Linked DNA regions of Homo sapiens: region 2 is linked to region 1. The links are contacts of gene promoters, found by promoter capture Hi-C in blood cells and fetal thymus (Javierre and others, 2016). All regions are on one chromosome and are shown on one strand. The core of a region is centred on a gene start or on the middle of the fragment in contact, and the rest is flanking DNA. Distances in the headings are between cores, read along the strand shown. Region 1 holds the start of NOTCH1 (notch receptor 1). Region 2 holds the start of NACC2 (NACC family member 2).

Evidence for each region. Contacts are between HindIII fragments. The CHiCAGO score rates a contact against its expected background, and 5 or more counts as called.
Region 2: a contact is called between the fragment with the promoter of NACC2 here and the fragment with the promoter of NOTCH1 in region 1, in 1 of 17 cell types (erythroblasts). The highest score is 5.6, in erythroblasts.

What each region holds. Positions count from the first base shown.
Region 1 is chr9:136,544,580-136,548,798 of GRCh38, forward strand. It overlaps NOTCH1 (notch receptor 1), which reads right to left and starts at 1,469. Exons shown (of 34, transcript NM_017617.5): 1 at 1,147-1,469. The coding sequence starts at 1,207. It overlaps MIR4674 (microRNA 4674), which reads right to left and starts at 1,680; the gene lies at 1,594-1,680. It overlaps NALT1 (NOTCH1 associated lncRNA in T cell acute lymphoblastic leukemia 1), which reads left to right and starts at 3,263. Exons shown (of 3, transcript NR_121577.1): 1 at 3,263-3,522. RefSeq lists enhancers at 304-353, 2,326-3,237 and silencers at 584-633, 854-1,113, 1,134-1,693, 2,034-2,133. The HindIII fragment of the contact is 3,030 bases long and covers 499-3,528 here.
Region 2 is chr9:136,089,235-136,096,586 of GRCh38, forward strand. NACC2 (NACC family member 2) reads right to left here and starts at 6,055. Exons shown (of 6, transcript NM_144653.5): 1 at 5,955-6,055. RefSeq lists enhancers at 1,299-1,991, 4,071-4,762 and silencers at 5,968-6,097, 6,418-6,517. The HindIII fragment of the contact is 6,619 bases long and covers 535-7,153 here.

The sequences.
Region 1 (4,219 bases), core at 219-2,718:
ACTCAGCTCCCGCCCGTGGGAAAATGCGACAGCTGCTCGCCCGCTACCCCGCCCGCCAACAAAGCGCCGGCCTCCGCCTCAGAATCAGAGCGGCCCATTGTGGAGTCGGGGCCGCCTCCAGGGGCACCGGGACAGCACCCTGGGGACGCGGCCCCGCCTCCGCCGACACCCAATACCTGCCTCCGCGGGCGCGCATCTCCAGGGCAGCCCCCATACACCCACAGGAGGGGGATGAAGGTCCCCCATTCGGAAGGAATTCGACCCCATCTCGAGAAGGGATCAATTACTCAAGCCCCTCCCTCCCCATCTTACCGGGGCTGAGAAACGGGGGAGGGGGGTGTGACACAGAGCCGCACTTTCTGGAAGAGGACAGATAATTCTCGCCTCCAACTCTCGGAGAAAGAGTGGATTAATCACTCGATTCCCCAGAGACCCCGCTCGCTGTGCGGCGGGGAGAAATGTAAGAGCCCCCCACCCGCGTCCCGCTCTCCGCCCCCAAGCTTTCCAAACTTCAACTCCGCAAAGCAAAAGGAAAGTTCAGTCCCCCCGGGCGCGGCGGCTTCTTACGCAACCCCTCCCCCAAACTGAGAGCCGGGCTGGGGGGCACCGGCGGGCGGGGCGACCGGGAGCCCGGGGACCCAGCCCGGCCGCGCGGGTCAGTGAAGGCGAACGCGGCGCCGCAGAGCCCACACTCCGCGCCCCAACATCCGCCCCGGCGTGGGCCAGAGGCGAAGAAGAAAGAAGATAAATGGCCCGGAGAAGCAACAGGAAACCAAAACCGACTCTATTCAAATCGAAAAATAGTAGGCAGCCCGCCCGCCCGGCCGACCGGCGGCAAGCCCCACGCGCGGCGGGTGAAGGGCGGGCCCGGAGTAGGGCCTCCGGGGCCCCAGCACCCCACACCGGCCTCCTAACTCGGCTCCAGGCACGGGCGGCGCGAGTCCGCCTCCACGGGGGGATCGAGGGGGAAGGTCGGTCCTCCCTGATCCCGGGACTCCAGAACCCCACGCCCCGGGCCGCCCGCTTTTCCCTCTCCATGCTGGCCTCCCCGCCGCCCGCTCCCAGCCGTGGGGCGCGCGCGCCGGGCGCCGCCAAAGTTTCCAAAGGGCGCGGAAAGTGGGGGCTCGCGGGTGGGTGGGCGCCTACCTCGTGCGGCGAGCGCGGGCAGCAGCGCCAGGCAGAGCAGGGGCGCCAGGAGCGGCGGCATGCCTCCCCACCGGCTGCCCTCTGCGCCCGGGCGGCGGCCTCCTGCGCTGGCCGGCGGGGCTGGGACGCACACGCGCGGCGTACGGTCCCGGGGCGGCGGCGGACGGTCCCGCCCTCTCTTCCCCGGCTGGCTGGCGGCGCTGTGCTCTCGCAGGCCCCCGGGCCCGGCTCCGCGCCCGGCTCGTTCCTTCGCTGCGCTCGCGCCCGCGCCCGCGCCCCGCGCCCCGCGCCCTTGCGCTCCCTCCCGCGGCCGAGGCACTAGTGAGGCTCAGAGTCGAGGTGCGCTCCGCCCCCGCCGGCCCCGCCCCGCCCGGCCCCACCCCCGCCGGTCCCCCCGCCCCCTCCGCGGCCACCTCCTCCCGCACGCCCCGTCCGCCTTTGCGCCTCCCCGAGCTGAGCCGCGCGTCCCGAGCCCAGCCTCTCCGGGGAGGAGGGACCCGGCGGCGCGGCGTGGGTCGGGAGCGGGCGCCTGGGACTACTTCTCGTTTGAAAGTTTTCAGAGGCCAAAAGTTTGAGCCGGGGCTGCGGAAGGATCCGGCTCTGGCGGTTGCCGCGCTCGGCGACAACTGGCGACTGAAATTTGCATGTGAATAAGCGGAGGAGCCCGGGGCGGAATGGGGAGGGCGAGGCCGCGGACAGCCGTGTGCACCGTGCGCTGGGCCGGGCGGGGAGCAGCTGAGGCCACGTTGGGGGACCCCGGGCCCGGGGCAGGGCTCTGGGAGAGTGGCCTAGCCGTGTGTGCGCCCCTAGCCCAGCGGCTTCACTCCCTCCCGAGGGCCCCGTGGCCGCGGCTTTAGGCGTCCAGAGGATCGATCGCCGCCAGACATCCCTGGCCGTGATTGCCCGAGCACTTGACCGCGAGGGATGGGGGCGCCGCGGCCTCTGGGCAGGGGACTCCGGGCGCCCCGAGGGAGCAGCCGGGACCAGTGCCTCGCGGACGGATTGTGCCCCGCTCCCCCAAGGGGGACCCGCGTCGACACGCTCCTCGGTCACCGTCCTCCTCCTGCCCGGGCGCCGCCTGCCTAAGGTGGCCCCAGAAAGCACAAACGGGTCGGGCGGATCTGCCGCTGGCGCCGGCGCAGCCCTTCCCACGTGCTCCTTCCGGCTGATTTATTTCTCCACCACGATGCCAGGCACGGGCACCCTGTGCCAAGCCTGGTTAAGCGCCAGGAGTCCAAAATGCCTGCCATAGTCCCTGCGCAAAGTTCACGGCCTCGTGCCAGGGACAGACAGCGCCCCCTCCCCACCCCAACACAGGGTGGTGAGTGCGATGGCAGAAGGCGCGTGTCCCGGCGCCCCTCCTGGAGTAGGAGGGCTAAGCCTGCCCTGCGGGGAGACCGAAAGGCTGGGAGGGACCTAGGACTGTGGGGGCCTGGGGGGAGGGCTGCAGAAACCCCAGAGCATGGTGGCAGAGGCAGGCACAGAAAGCAGGACAAATCTCACACCTGACCCCAGCAAGCCTTTCCTGGCACACCTCTTGCCAAATGCTGAGCACTCTGGAAACAGCCAGTGCAGGCGGCCTGTCCCGCCCCTGTAGCTGCTGCTGGGAGCCTCCCTCGCCTGCGTCCTCCCAGAATCTGGCCTCACTTCTGCAGGCCTGGGGTAACATCTTGGGGTCAGCGCCCCAGGAGAGGAGGCGCCTGGAGGCAGCAGAGATGTTTATGTAACAGCAGCCAGGCAGCCTGGAGGAGCAGATTTTCCATAGAAGGAAGCGCGGGGCTGTGCAGCTCCCAGGCTGAGGACTCTGCCCACCACGACGTCCTCTGCTCCTGGTGGGTGGGGGTGGGGTGGGGCATAGGGAGGCCCGAAGGCCTCAGGCCTGGTGCTGATCGGGTGCGGGTGCGACTGCCTGTGTGCCTCCATTGGCATCTCTGCCTGTGGGCCCCAGGCCAGAAGTAATGGCCCATGTAGCCCAGGCCCGGGGGCCAGTCCTCAGCATTTTGCGGAGGGGCGGCCTGGGAGGGGAGGAGGGGATCCCTGGATAGGGGGTCTCCCCTGGTCTGCCCCAGCTGTGCCGACAGCACCTCCACCTTGGGCCTCCATCCTCTACCAGCAGAGAAGAGAGTGGCCCATTCGGTGTCCACCCGTCAGGCCACCCAGCAGCCAGGCACGCTCATAAGCCCGCGTTACGGATGGTGCGGCCGGGTGCACAGGCCCGAGGGAAGCACAGGCCTCGGCCTCCCAGCTCCCAACCCCTGCACCACCCACAGCCGGGAGTACCCCATGGACAGCTGTGGCCGAGGAGAAGCCAGGGATGAGGGGGATGGGCCTCACCTCCCCACCAGCCTGGGAAGGGGGTAGGCCCCTGGCAAGTAGGTGAGAAGCTTTTTCATTCACAAGTTGTCCGGGCTCCCCATTCCTCTTTGTCAGGCCAGCGGGTGTGGGCAGTCGGGGGAGGCTGGGGTCCTGACACAACAGGAGTACATCTGCTGGCCTAGGGCCTGGAGACCTTCTCCTACAGGTCGGGAGGCAGCCCTGGGCAGCGGGCATTGCGGGGACTAAAGAGAAACAAGAGCAGGTTGTGTGCAGGGCACCCCAGCCACTCCAGAAACCCAATGGGAGGGTGGGGGCTAGGACCCCAAGAAGCTGAATTGGGGTGCAGTGCCGCCAGGCCTCCCCTGTAGGAGTCACTTTGGGCTTCCTGTCCCAACTTGTGGTGGGAGCTGGGGCAAGGTTCCAGGGGTACCCCGAATGAATGGGGCTGTTCCCAAGCTGGCCAGGGAGCCTGGAAGCAGATGAGATGGGGCCGCAGAGCCTGGTTTGCGGAGGGGAGAGGCAGACGTGTCCTGCAGCCCTCTCTTCTTCAGAGGCCCCCTGCGGGTGCTGAGGGGAGAGTGGCTTAGGCGTTGCACCCCAGGAGACTGAACTGGGTCAGTTCCCCCTTGTTTGCTGCCAGAGAAATGGGGGTACCATTGTCAGGGTGAGCTAAGGAGGCCCTGCTGACATTGGCCCAACCAGGCCCCTCCTTTGCGGCTGCTGTGGGGACTTTCGAGAGCAGAGCACACCCCTAAGT
Region 2 (7,352 bases), core at 4,805-7,304, 450 kb before region 1:
CCACCCAGATCTGAGCCAGGCTCTGGCCAGGGCCCAGGGCCTCAAAGGAGGACCCACGGGCCACGTCTTCCTGAGGTCCCCACGGCCCTAGGAGGGAGACAAGGGGGCTCCCCCTCCCCACAGCCACCCCCCTTGCTAGAAACCTAGCACCCGCGAAGGCCTGACTTCCAGGCGAAGGGTAGGGGGTACAGACTTCAGAGAACTCAAGGCCCTTCAGGTTCTGCTCTGCCTGAGCCTCCATGTCACCCCCCACAACCCCACCTGGTGGGGGGCTCCTGTTAGCCCCTCCCCCAGCGCTGGGGGCCTCTCCCCAAGAAGGTGAACCCACCCTCGGGGTGCCCTCCCTCCTCTGAGGCTCCCCCAACTCATGTACCTCTACACCACTTGGCACATCCACAGTTGGGGGAGGCCCTGGGTGACCCCTGTCCCCATTCAGAATGGGGGACCCCAGCCCCAACAGAGTGAGTCATGTTCTTCTACTTTCCCTCTTCATTTAGGAGCCACGGCCGACCACTCAACCTCTATTTTCTTAAAAGCTTTTTTTTTTTCTTTTTTATTAAAAAAAAATCCAATTATAGCACAAATCTCTCAGCAGGGGTCAGTGTGGAATAAGAATAGCCAAAGTTAATGGACATGACACAGGCAAGATTAATGCCTAAAGGGTTTCAAAAGTTGTGTGATACGGATTTCATTAACATTTTAATTGTAATGTATCTTTTTAATCTTCTCTCACCCTAATGGATTTATATCCAAAAAAAAAAAGAATAAACTGCTGACAACAAAAAGTATCAATATACAAAATTTAACAAAGGCGCTTAGCTGTGCAATGGAAATGAAATTAAATGAGCAAAACTCTGTTAAAGCTGATTTTTTAACAGCACAAAAGTCAAGAATTCAGCAAAGATGGTACTTCCCCTTTCTTGGCACAGACACCAGCTGGGTGGTAGAAGGGAGATGGGCACAGCCCCCGAGGCAGATGCCCAGGGCCTGGGTGGGGGCCCTGGCCAGAGGGGATGCCTCAGGGGTCCCTGGGAGGAGGAAGATGTGGGACAACTTCCTTCTGCTCCGATCCAAAGGCAGGGCCAACGCTGACTCCCTCCAAGACCGCCGCAGAAGAACCAAGGAAGGCCCACAGCTGCCCCCTGACTCTAGGCAGTGCCCAGGAGTGAGAAGGTAACTCCTCCAGAAAACACCAGCCCACTGGGCGGAAGCCCCAGGACAGTAGGGGTGGGGAGGGAGCATCTGAAGTGTCCCTGTAAAGAGGGGGGCACTAGCATTTTGTGGGGTGGGGGCTGGGTTGCTAGCAAGTCTTCCCTCAGCAGGCACCCAGCTCCCAACGCCCTCCATGAGGGACCCCAGGCAGCTCTGGCCAACAGCACAGCCCGGATTCCAGCCTCCAGATTCCAACATCAGCTCCTGAAATGTCCTCAAGCCTGACTATGGAGGGCTGGGGGGACTTTTATTTTCAATCAACAAACATTTCTTGAGGCATGACTATGCGGAGGCTGATGCTCTACCCCTTCACAGACTACCAGGGAGGCCACCCCCAGCCCAGGGCCGGGCTGCCCTCGGGGCCCCGGTGGCTGAGCTGGGGCCGGCCAGCCCTGGGCTTGGGAGGCATCTCTGCAGCATGGCTTTGCCGTTCACCCCAGTGACTATATATGGGCACTTTCAGGCCCCTCTGTTCCCCGCCCCCAGCCCTGCCTGCTTCCCAGGCACAGGGGCAGGAGCTGGGCGGGCCCAGGAGCTCGCGGCCGCCCATGGCCCTGTGCCCTCCTGGATGCCAGGGCCCCGCACTGGGGGAGGGGAGATTCCTTTAGAGAGACCCGGAGCCAGCCTCTCCTCCCTGTGGGTCCCTGCAAACAACCTCTGGAGAAAAGCCTGCCTCTTGTTCTCCCGGGAGACTCCATGGCGGCCTCCTCTTAAAGGGTAGTGAGCCTTACATGGGATTCAGTGGCTTCACTGGCCCAACAGCCCCCAGGCCAGCCCCAGCCGGCATGAAGGCAGAAAGGCCGGGCTGCCCACATTCAGCCTCCAGCTCCTCGGAGGAGGCAGAGGATGCTACTCTGTAGCAGGACGGCCTCAGGGAGGACGGGTTCCTCACTCAAGGTCACACAGCCTGGGCTGGGCGTTCTCCCAGGAGACCTGAGCCCAGGGTTCTGGCTGCCAAGTGCTCCAGTGAGGACCCAGGCCCAGCAAGCAGACACTGGGGATGTGGTGGGGCCCCAGGAGCCCTGGGTCAGGGTCCCAAATGCCCTCCCCTACTCAGACTAGCTCCCAGGCTGATCCCCTGTGTGGACAGGGGTGAGTGCCGGTCCCGGAGTTCATGTCCCCAAATGACAAGCAACCAATACTTCCAGACAGATGCCTTCACGCCTGCCCACTGCGCTCTGCTGAGACCCTATACAAGGGTGTGTGCTTCCAAAACCCAAACCGTAAACAGCAAACGCAGGAAGGCCACAGCTGAGGGAGCTAGGGCTCCCAGCAAATGGGCAGCTGCAGGTGACACAGTAAGGAGCCCCAGCCAGCCAGGAGGCATATTTTACAAATGATCTCATCTCACCAAGAGCCAGGGCTGGTGAGAGCAAGGATTTGCTTAAAAAAAAAACCAACAACAACAACAAACAAAAAAACAGAGGTCACCAGGATCCCTGCCCCGCAACAGAGGCGGAGGCAGGCGTGGAGCAGCAGCCCCTGGCCTGGGTAACCTCGCTCCCCGGCCCCCACAGCCAAGGCCCAAACAACCTTCCAGTCACATCTCCTCTGTGACTCTGGACAGGCTGAAAGGGAAACGAGATCCACCTGGGGATTAGGGGGCGCCTCAGGGAGGCCGGTGTGGGGGCCACACACAGCTCTGAACTGGGGCCCAGTGGGGAGACAAGAGTAGAGAAACGCTGGCCAAGCTCCCCCACCCAAGGCCCGACTGCCCACCTCTGGGAGGACCAAGGGCGTGCCCAGAGAGGGTGCCAGGAAAGGAACGAAATGCTGGGGAGAGGGCACTTCGGGGAAGGCCCAGGACCCAGGGAGCTGGGTCTGCAGACACTCACCGCCGGGGAGCCTGACCGGAGATGGGGTGAGAGGCCCCAGTGAGCCAGCTCTACACAGGTTCCCAAGACCCCTCATCAGCCCCCAGTGAGACCAGACCCAGTCAGACCTCACAAACTCCCGCACCTGCCCACATGCATCAGACGGCGGCTCAGGTCCAGCGTCCAGACGGGCTAGCGCTACTTCTCTCCTGCCTTGGAGGGCGCTCCACGGCCTCACACCACAGGGCTTTGCTTCTCCTTCGAGCCACGCCTGGAAGCCCAGCCCCAGGTTTCCTCAGCCCAGGCCAGAAATGTCACCCTGAAGTGGAAGGTGGCCTACCTTGTCCTCAGAACCACAATGGGAGGCTGGTCAGCCTGGGCCACTGAGGCAGGGACATGTGCTACCAAGGTGAAGGTGGACTGGGCCGGAGGAGCAGCAGAGTCAGGGGGCCCCATAGTCAAGTTCCCAAATGTGTTCGTTACACTGGGGTCTGTAGAAGGCCTTGGTTCTCCGGAGAAACATGCTGGTGTATCCTGGGGTAAGGGGTGCCACCTGCTGCCCCCCTGTGGACTCCGACCCTCATCCCACCGGCCACAGTCCAACTGGATCTCGGAACCCACTGCGTGACCCTGCAAAGGGGATGGAGTGACCCCAAGGGGCTGTGAGATGCAGAGAGGCAGCCTGGGGACAGTGTGTGGAGGTGGCTAGAACAGGGCTGGCTGAGGAAGGAACATGGGCTCTGCCCCACTGACGGTGGCTGGGGCCACTGGGCACTCGGTGCCCTGTGCGTTCCAGGGACACAGGTCAGAGGCACAGACCTCAGAGGAAGGGGCACAAGGTGGAACCTTGGGAACTCAACATCCCGAAAAGGACAACACCTTGGTTCCCCATTCCATCCCTCGGGCCTGGGAGACCACACTGCCCACAAACCAGGAAAGCAGGACTCCGGAGGCAGAGGCCAAGAGGAGTGCAGGCCTGGAAGAACCGCTCAGCACCAAGATCGTCACTGTTGTTTCATGAATAATGCAGCCTCATGCTTTAATTGGAAAACAAAGGGAGGATTGAAGAATTTTTTAAAAGTCACCACTAGCCCCCTGCCCAGGGCAGAGCAGCCCTGCGAACCCTTCCAGCAGCCGGTGGTAAAGAACAGAGCCTGTTCTCGCAGCCTGTAGCAGCCCAGCTCCCACTGCTCCCAGCAGGAGATCTCCCGGGTGGCTCCTCCCCGCCTTCCCGCCAGGCCAGGGCCAGCACCATCGAGCCCTGGGTGTGACCACTGCGAAAGGATCCCTGGCCACTAAGAAGTGACAAGTGATATCTTGTTCCACTCTCTGTGCCCATTCCAAGTGGCTTTGCCGAAAGGACAGGGGGCCACCACCTTGGGTGGCAGCTCCTTTTATTTCCTCCCCTTGGACTCTGGCCCAGCTACCACCCAACAGTGACCCCAGGGGAAAACGCCAAGAGGCCTCTTTAAGGGAGGGGCTGGGAAAGGCCCCACAGAGGACCAGAGGGGTGCTCCAACGGTGGCCGGGAGAAGAAGGGGTGGGTGGCTGAGAGGTGGCGGGTGGGGCGGGGGCTGCCTGAACCCTGACCTAACTCTAGGCGCCCCTGCTGGGGGGTGCTACAGGCTAAAACACCCTGCAGAATGCTGAGCTGAGTGTCCCACTGGAGAACAGGAGGGAAGGAGGTCAGGAGCCTGCCAGACGAAAAGAGGGGTGGGTGAGAAGAAGGGGCGACCTGGAGGGACACGGACTCTGGCAGGAGAGTGCGGCCGCGCTGGCGGGCGGGAACACCAAGGTGCACGCGCTCCCGGAGGCAGCTCCACGGGATGGGAGTCCGGGCTGCCTTGGGCACCCCCGGGTCAGCACCCCCGCCACACACAGGAAGGAACGCGCAGCAGAGAACACAGCTCAGGGCACCCAGCGGCCCAGGGAGACGGGCCCACCAGCACGTGGGTGAAACACCTCCAATCCGGAGGCCCCGCGCGGGGGTTGGGGGAGGGAGTGGAACGGCCTGGGAGGCCAACTCCAGGGACCCGGCCTCGCGGCCTTCAGACCCACAGGTTTAAGCGGCTCCACGACGAGAGTCCAAGACCAAACTTCCCCCAGAGCCTGGCAGAGGGGCTGGGAGGTGACCTCTGACCTCCGACCCCACACGATCCCAGCAAGAGAAGCAGGAAACTCCGTCGGAAGGCCTCGGTCCGCCCTGGCCGTGCGGGGTGCGCGGCGGGCCCCGGGCTCCGCTGAGTTTCTTAGAGAAGGAGCTGGGGCCCCCCGACCTCAGCTCCGCAGAGGCACAGAAGCTGGCAAGAGGCAGAGCCCCCTCCCCCTGCGGCCGGACCCCAGTTTCTCCCCAGGCTGGGGCCCGAGTGGGGGAGGCGCGGGAGGCGGTGACGACCCACGAACGGGCCCACCTGGACCGGGAGGGCGAGGCGCGGGCCCGGCTGGGCCAGGCAGCTGCGCAGATGCGCCGGGAGGGGTGGGTACCTCCGCCCTGGCCCCGGGCCAGTCCTGCCCCGGCTTCCCCACCCGGAGGGCTGGATCGGCCAGTCGGGTCCCTGGGGAGGCCGCGCGGGTCCCCAGAAATCCAGGGAAACCCAGCAGGCGGCGGGGAGCGCCCCGGGACGCCCGGAGCCGGGGTCTCCCCGAACGCGCGGCGCGGCGTCCCGGCCCGGGGTCGCGGGCGCCTCCGCCGGGACCCCCCGGCCCCGCCCGGCCCCCCTCCGCGGGCTCCCGAGGCCGGTTCCCGCGCGCACGCCCGGGCCGGCGCGGAACTCGGCCGCACCCGCCCCGCGCGGCCGGCACTGCGGCAGGGGGCTCGCGCCAAGTTGGGCGGCCGCGGAGTTTGCGGGAAGTGCGGGCCCGGCCCGTGGGACGACCCCGCCCGGCGGCGTAACCCGGGGGCGGCCGCGCGCGCCAAGTTGGCGGTACCTGCGGGCGCCCGGCCCGGTCCGGCCTGGGCAGCTGCGGCGCGCCGCCCGCGGCAGGAAGTGCTTGGCGTCCCGGCGCTCCGGCTCCCATGGACTTTCTCCGACCTCGCCCAGCACCGGCGGCCGCACCGCGGCGGGGGCGGGGCGGCGGCGGGGGAGGTGCCCGCGGGCCGTTAAAGGGACAGCGCGCCGGCCGCGCGCGCGCGCGCACTGGCAGCCAGGTGGGCTCCCGGGGTCGGGGCTGGGGTCCGGGGGCCGGGAGGGTCCCCAGTGGGGGCCGGCGGGGCGTGGGGAACCCCGAGCGCTGGGGAGGGGAGGCGGCAGCTCCTCGCCCCTCGCGCGTCCTCCTTCCGGAGCTGCCGGCGGTCGACCCTGCGCGGGACACCCGGCGGGAGCCGGACGCCGCGGCGCAGAGGACGGAGCTCGGCGGCCGGGTCGGGAAAGGACCTGGAGCGCCGCCCTCCGCCCTCCCCGGGCCCCGGCCTCGGCCGGACTCGCTAAGCCCGGGAGAGCCCCCGGGCCCCCCTACCCCGCCCCCGGCGCGCGCCCTGCCCGCGGCAGTCGCGTCCGCACGGTGCAGCCTCCGGGATCCGGGCGGGGGAAGTGCGCGCATCCGCAGCCGCCCTGGACGCTCAGGCGGGCCGTGAAAGACGAGGATACGGGAGCGCCCTTGGGCGAACGTCTGCGGGGCTCCGGCGCCCGTCCCTGCGGCCCGGGAACTGCAAGCTGCCTGGACTGGGCCTGGCGCTGCCTTCAGGCCTGGTGTGATCCGGGCGCACTGGGGCGTTGACAGTCATTCCGGCACCGGCCACGCAGCTCTCCATCTGCCCAAGGCCACGCTCCTGAGGACAGAGGTGCAGTTTTAAAACAAGGGCACGGAAATAAAACGGCCACACACCCGGAAAGACCCAGAGACCCCTCCTCAGCTGCCCCCTAACCTGGGGCCTGAGGTCAGGACAGGCTGCAGTGGTCCTCAGAGGCTAAGCCAGCCTCACTCCCACAGCACGCTCAAGGGTCCTTGCAGGAGAATGGAGTGATACCGCCTCAGTGGTCCCGAGCGAGGGCGCTGGGAGAAGGGTTGAGAAGGAGATGGCCACCAGCATCCCAGAGAACGCCTTTGGGGCTCTGGGGATCAGAAACCTGGGGCTACAGCCCTTCTGGCACAGTCAGCCAAGGTCATTCCCTGGACAAATCATCAGAAGCTTGGCCAGGTTCTTGTCACCCCAACCTCAAGCTAGGCCCTTGATCTTGGCCACAGACTGGCCCTTGACCCCAACTTTAGGTTCTATTCAGCTCTGCGTCCAGAACACACACACACACACACACACACACTTCACTCCCTGGCTTGCCTTGTATGGGGGTGAGTATGGAACCCCGCAGGGACTCTGGGCTCTCCCCA